2 separate regions of the Homo sapiens genome follow, and region 2 is linked to region 1. The links are contacts of gene promoters, found by promoter capture Hi-C in blood cells and fetal thymus (Javierre and others, 2016). All regions are on one chromosome and are shown on one strand. The core of a region is centred on a gene start or on the middle of the fragment in contact, and the rest is flanking DNA. Distances in the headings are between cores, read along the strand shown. Region 1 holds the start of ABTB2 (ankyrin repeat and BTB domain containing 2). Region 2 overlaps ABTB2 (ankyrin repeat and BTB domain containing 2).

The links. Contacts are between HindIII fragments. The CHiCAGO score rates a contact against its expected background, and 5 or more counts as called.
Region 2: a contact is called between a fragment that was not itself captured here and the fragment with the promoter of ABTB2 in region 1, in 1 of 17 cell types (M0 macrophages). The highest score is 5.3, in M0 macrophages.

Annotation. Positions count from the first base shown.
Region 1 is chr11:34,356,462-34,359,480 of GRCh38, reverse strand. It overlaps ABTB2 (ankyrin repeat and BTB domain containing 2), which reads left to right and starts at 1,471. Exons shown (of 17, transcript NM_145804.3): 1 at 1,471-2,780. The coding sequence starts at 1,898. RefSeq lists a silencer at 1,286-1,485 and an enhancer at 2,436-2,545. The HindIII fragment of the contact is 9,392 bases long and covers 1-3,019 here.
Region 2 is chr11:34,209,073-34,212,091 of GRCh38, reverse strand. The region is part of intron 1 of ABTB2 (ankyrin repeat and BTB domain containing 2); the gene reads left to right. Among named protein-coding and RNA genes, the nearest start is that of NAT10, 100 kb to the right of the region's middle. The HindIII fragment of the contact is 334 bases long and covers 1,248-1,581 here.

The sequences.
Region 1 (3,019 bases), core at 222-2,721:
CAGTACTTCCATCTTTGACTCTGTTCCCAATTCTAACCATCGGGCGGCGATGTTGCATAAATAAAGACCCGCGGAAAGGCAAAATTAAGCGAAACTGCCAAATAAAAAGCAGTTTCACCGGGGGTAAAGGCCATTAATTTAAGAAGGAAAGAGACAAACCAGACATTTCTAGTTCATATCCAACTCACGGCCCAAGGTCAGAACTGTGTAAAATGCAACACAAAGGAGCCATTCAGGAGTGGGGGAGGCTGACTTGGGGAGAGCGAATGCACAATCCCCGCCTTGAGCCTGCGGTTCCACTGGAGGGGGCACAGGTCCGTTTGCGCACGTGCGTGTGAGTAGCCACAGGGCAGCGGCGGGACATGCCTGCACCGGGCATGGGACTGCTGAACCAACAGCGCTCTGGCGGACCGTTTGGGACACCCGCCCGGAGGCAGGTTGGCACTGGCGCTGCCTGGAGGTCAGCCACTCATTGTACCCCGGAGGAACTGGGTCCCGCGGGGGCATACGGCTCGCCCACCGGCACGCGTTAGGAGGCGAACACCTGCATCCAGCTAGGTGTTCCGAGCTCAGCCCAGGGCGAGGGACTGCTCTGCCACCTTCTTCTCATTCTTCCTGTAAGAACACTGTCTATCTCGGACAAAAAGGACCCACCTGACAGCAAGTGGTATCGTCACACAGAGGTAACAGGGAAGTCACGGATCCTCTTGAGAATCTGACAAAAGTTGGTGCCCCTTCCCCATAGTGGCACTCAGAAAACTGCAGGTGAAACCACAAATGGGCGGAGGCACTCACAGGCTTCCTGGGGCCCGTCCATTGATCAGATACCAGGTTAAGAAATTCTGTCCTTATTGGAGCCTAGACGGCAGCGCAAAGGAACCAGACGGACTTGGAAAGAGAGGCAGGGACTCCCTCCTCCCTCCAAACACAGCCAGCGTTTCATCTCGGATTGCGGGAGGGGCCTGGCGGAAGGTGGAGGAGAGGTGGAGCGCCTGGATGGGGCCCTCCCCATTCTCCTGGCCCCAACCCCAGGACGCCTGGCTGCGGAGGGCTCGAAAGCGAGCAGCGAACGCCCAAAGCCTGGGTGGCGGGAAGGTGGCAGCGCCCTGTAGCTTTTCCTTTGCATTTTTCTTTAAATCGTGAGCTCCGGAGCTATCGTTTCGACCGCTGCTTTCCGGTCTCCACCTCCACCTCCCAGTTGGCTGGCTCGCCCTTCCCCCACCCCCCCATCCCCCCCATCCCCCCCCATCCCCACCCCCATCCCAGCCGCGTGCCCGACCCTCGGCCTCCAGCCCCGCCTCCTTCGCCGCGGGGTTTAACCCGAGGCAGAGTGAAATCTGCATAGTGACCGCCCCCTCGGAGATCATTGGTGCAGCCCCGCCCATCGCGGCCGGTGATTGGTAAGCCGCCCGGGGTTATTTGCATGTCGGACGCAGCCGGGTACCCAGCTGTGCTGCCGGCCGGCGCAGCGCAGAAGTTTGCAGAGCGCTTTCTCGCCGGCTGGTCCCGGACTCGCGCTGCGCCCTGCGCCCTGCGCCGCCGCCTCCTCCTTCTGCCGCCGCCGCCCTGTTCTCCCGGGATTCCTTCTCTGTGGAGGACTGACTCTCTGCTTGTGGGAATTAGAGGTGGACAAGGGGGAGTGCCGGGGGGTAGCGACGGGGTTCTTTCCAGTGGCAGCTGCGAGTCGGGACGCCGGGAGCGTGGGGCTCCTGCTGGCCACGGATCTCGGCCACCTTCCCGCGGCCTCCGGGCAGGCAATGCGGCCGCCGAGCCCCGCGACGCAGAGAGGAAGGAGGGTGGCCCGGAGGGCCTAGAGCTTGTTTCTGCCCACTTGGGAAAGAGGGCATGGAGTTGTGAGTGCCCCTCGCTCGGCGACGCCGCCCTCGGCAGGCTCCCCATGGCCGGGACGTACAGCTCGACTCTGAAGACGCTGGAGGACTTGACCTTGGACTCCGGGTATGGGGCCGGGGACTCGTGCCGCTCGCTCAGCCTCTCGTCCTCCAAGTCCAACTCGCAGGCGCTCAACTCTTCGGCGCAGCAGCACCGCGGGGCGGCCTGGTGGTGCTACTCCGGCTCCATGAACAGCCGCCACAACAGCTGGGACACGGTGAACACGGTGCTGCCCGAGGACCCCGAAGTGGCCGACCTCTTCTCGCGCTGTCCGCGGCTCCCCGAGCTGGAGGAGTTCCCCTGGACCGAAGGAGACGTGGCCCGGGTGCTCCGCAAAGGCGCTGGCGGCCGGCGGCTGCCCCAGTTCTCCGCCGAGGCGGTGAGGCGCCTGGCCGGGCTGCTCCGCAGGGCACTGATCCGCGTGGCCCGCGAGGCGCAGCGCCTGAGCGTGCTGCACGCCAAGTGCACCCGCTTTGAGGTGCAGAGCGCCGTGCGCCTGGTGCACAGCTGGGCGCTGGCCGAGAGCTGCGCGCTGGCAGCCGTCAAGGCGCTGTCCCTGTACAGCATGAGCGCCGGCGACGGGCTGCGCCGGGGCAAGTCCGCGCGCTGCGGCCTCACCTTCTCAGTGGGTCGCTTTTTCCGCTGGATGGTGGACACCCGAATCTCCGTGCGCATCCACGAGTACGCAGCCATCTCCCTCACCGCCTGCATGGAGAACCTGGTGGAGGAGATCCGGGCCAGGGTGATGGCCAGCCACAGCCCTGATGGCGGAGGGGCCGGAGGCGGGGAGGTGTCTGCTGAGGCCCTGGAGATGGTCATCAACAACGACGCCGAGCTCTGGGGCGTCTTGCAGCCCTATGAGCATCTCATCTGCGGCAAGAACGCCAATGGTAAGCGCGCGGGCCTCGGACTGGCAGACTGGGTAGGCAAGAAATCCCGCCCTGGGCTACTGGGGGAGTGAATTTCCTGAGACAAAGCTGGTGGCTGTGCCAGTTCTTTGGGAGAAAACGTTTGGTCTGAGGATAGGGTTCATTACATGGCACTTGCCAGAGATTGTTCTAAGGGTGTCTGACTTTTGGAGGGTAAACTTGTGAATGATCTCCATCCTGTTCTGCGTGGCATTGTTACT
Region 2 (3,019 bases), core at 165-2,664, 150 kb after region 1:
GAGTAAGGCCCTGTCTCAATAAATAAATAAAACCTGCTTCTCAAACTTCCCCTTATCTCTCCTGTCTCCCAGCATTTTCTCCCCATTTGAATTTTTGGGCCTCACAGTATCATGGTCACGTCTTGAGATGGGTTTTGCCCAAGTATTAGATGACTTTTTGATTATCCTTTTTTTTTTTTTTTTTTTTTTGAGACAGGGTCTCACTCTGTCACCCAGGCTGTGTCGCCCAGGCTGGAGTGCAGTGGTGCAATCTCGGCTCACTGCAACCTCTGCCTCCCAGTTTCAAGCAATTCTCCTGCCTCAGCCTCCTGAGTAGCTGGGATTACAGGTGTGCACCACCATGCCTGACTAATTTTTGTAGTAATTTTTGTATTTTCACCATGTTGGACAGGCTGGTCTCGAATGCCTGATCTCAAGTGATCCTCCTGCCTTGGCCTCCCAAAGTGCTGGGATTACAGGTGTGAGCCACCACGCCTGGCTTGATTATTCCTGATGAATCACTTTACATGGATGATTGACAGCTCCTGGGGCATATTCCATTCCACTTCAGGTTTTTCCTCTTATTTCCCTCATCTTGCTCTTGTCTCAACACCCATCCCCCCAGCCTCTCTGAACTTAGAATGTCATGTGGAATACTATTCAGTGAAGGGTTTGGGGGCTTTTTTAAAGAATTGACTGTCCTGGCTGGGCATGGTGGCTCACACCTATAATCCCAGCAAATTTGGGAAGCTGAGGCGGGCAGATTGCTTGAGCCCAGGAGTTCTAGACCCGCCTGGAAAAGATGACAAAAACTCCATCTCTCCAAAAAATACAAAAATTAGCTGGACACGGCAGTGTGCCCCTGTACCCCAGCTACTCAGGAGGCAGAGATGGGAGGATTGCTTGAGCCCCGAAGGTTGAAGCTGTAGTGAGCTGTAATCCCATTACTGCACTCCAGCTTGGGTGACAGAATAAAACCTCGTCTCAAAACAAACAAAAAGAATGAATTGACTGTCCTTACACTCTATTTGGGTCTCCCTGAAAACTATTCATGCTTCAACTTTTCTACACTTTGTTCTGGCATGACTAATATATAACAACTGGGCATTAAATGTACTATATATAAAATTCCAGATCAGAGAATGGAAACACTTAAAAATAAAAAAATTTTAAAAAGGGGTTGGCTTATCTGGGCTATTTGGAAACCGTTCAGTGGGGCAGTATAATTTTTATTTTCAGAAGCTTATGGATTGCACCCCACCCAAGCTTCCCGCGCACCTAAGAAGGCTGGCAGAAGACGCCCTGCCAAGTTTCCTTGCGAGTGCAGTAAAGGAGTAATCCTCTGCCCTCTGGTTTTCCTTTCAAAGAAACTAGGGACAGGCGGTGGCCTTGGCTGCCTTGGCCATGAGCTTCCCTGAGCCGGGTAGCTGGTGGGCTAGTGGGGCCGTTGGTGGCAGGTGCAGAAATGGTACCACACTCACTGTCCCATTGCCCAGAAAGAACATTTACAAGTCTGGGGAGAGCGCTCGTAATGGTTGCTGAGTTTGGAGGACAGTTATGTTACAGTCTTGGTGGCTTTTTGATGAATGGTCAGATAAAGCTTCACTATAAACCTATCCAGTTTTACACAGAAAGGACATCTTTTTTACATTTAAAGTTGTGTGTGTGTATATGGGGGAAAGTGGTGGTGTTATAGCTCTGGAGGAAATTAAACCATAGGAAATAGTAAAAACAAGGTCTCTGTGTTCCCACTGTTGACAATTCACAAGTTAAATGGTGGAATGAGAAGGGATAAAAAGGATTTCAGGGGTGCACCTGAGTGCTGTCGCACACATAGGGGTCAGAGTCTAGAATCCCAGTGCTGGGAGGACTTGAGAAGCCATAGATTCCACCCCCGTGGTTTACAGAGAAGGGAATGAAATCCCCATCAATTTGGCCTTTGGCCTAAGCCCTGCTTCTAAAAACCCTTTAGAAGTCTGGCTTGTCATCCCAAAGTGCAGTCCACCAGCTTCCGTCAGCTTGGAAGAGACAGCGCCTCTGCAAGCTAAAACTCAGCTCACGTCCCGGTTGGCAACTGGCAAGAAGGCGGCTTCCCAGTCTTCTGAGAACTGGGTTTCCCTTCTAACTCAGTGGCACCCTCTCTGGGCCCTGGTGGAGAATCACTTAGGAAAGAAGCAGGCTGCTGTCCTCCAGAGTTCCACCCATACCCCTACCATTGACCCTACTCCTACCACTACCCCTCACCCCCATCCCTCACCCCCACCCCCACCCCAACCCCTCACCCCATCCTCACCCCCACCTCTACTCTCCACCCCCACCCCTACCCCCACCCCTACCCTCCACCCCCACCCTACCCCCACCCCTACCCCCACCCCCACCCCTGACCCCCCAACCTCTCACCTCCACCCCTACCCCTCACCCCCACCCCTACCCCTCACCCCTACCCCTCACCCTCACCCCCAACCCTTTCCCTCACCCCCACCCCTACCCCTCACCCCCACCCCTACCCCTCCCCCTCACCCCCATCCTCACCCCCACGCCTACCCTCCACCCCTACCATCACCCCTCTGGGCTAGAGCAGAGCAGAGTGAAAAGTAGCTTAGAGAAGCGAGGATCAGGTGTGCACAGGGTTCCTAACTCTGCTGATATCTTGGGAGGTGCTGGGAAATTTTCCAGTTTACTGGCAGAATTACTCTCCTCCCTAAATTTCAAAAAGCAGAGAAGGACGTTATCTATTCTCTTTTCTGGGGGAAAAAAAAAGTTTTTTTTTGGAGACAGAGGCTCACTCTGTTGCCCAGGCTGGAGTGCAGTGGCACGTTCTCATCACTGCAACCTCCACCAGGTTCAAGTAATTCTCCCTCACCTCAGCCTCCTGAGTAGCTGGGATTACAGGTGTGCACCACCATGCCCGGCTAATTTTTGTATTTTTAGTAGAGATAGTGTTTCACCACGGTGGCCAGGCAGGTCTCAAACTCCTGGCCTCAAGTGATTCACCCGTCTCTGCCTCCCAAAGTGCTGGAATTACAGGCCTGAGCCACCA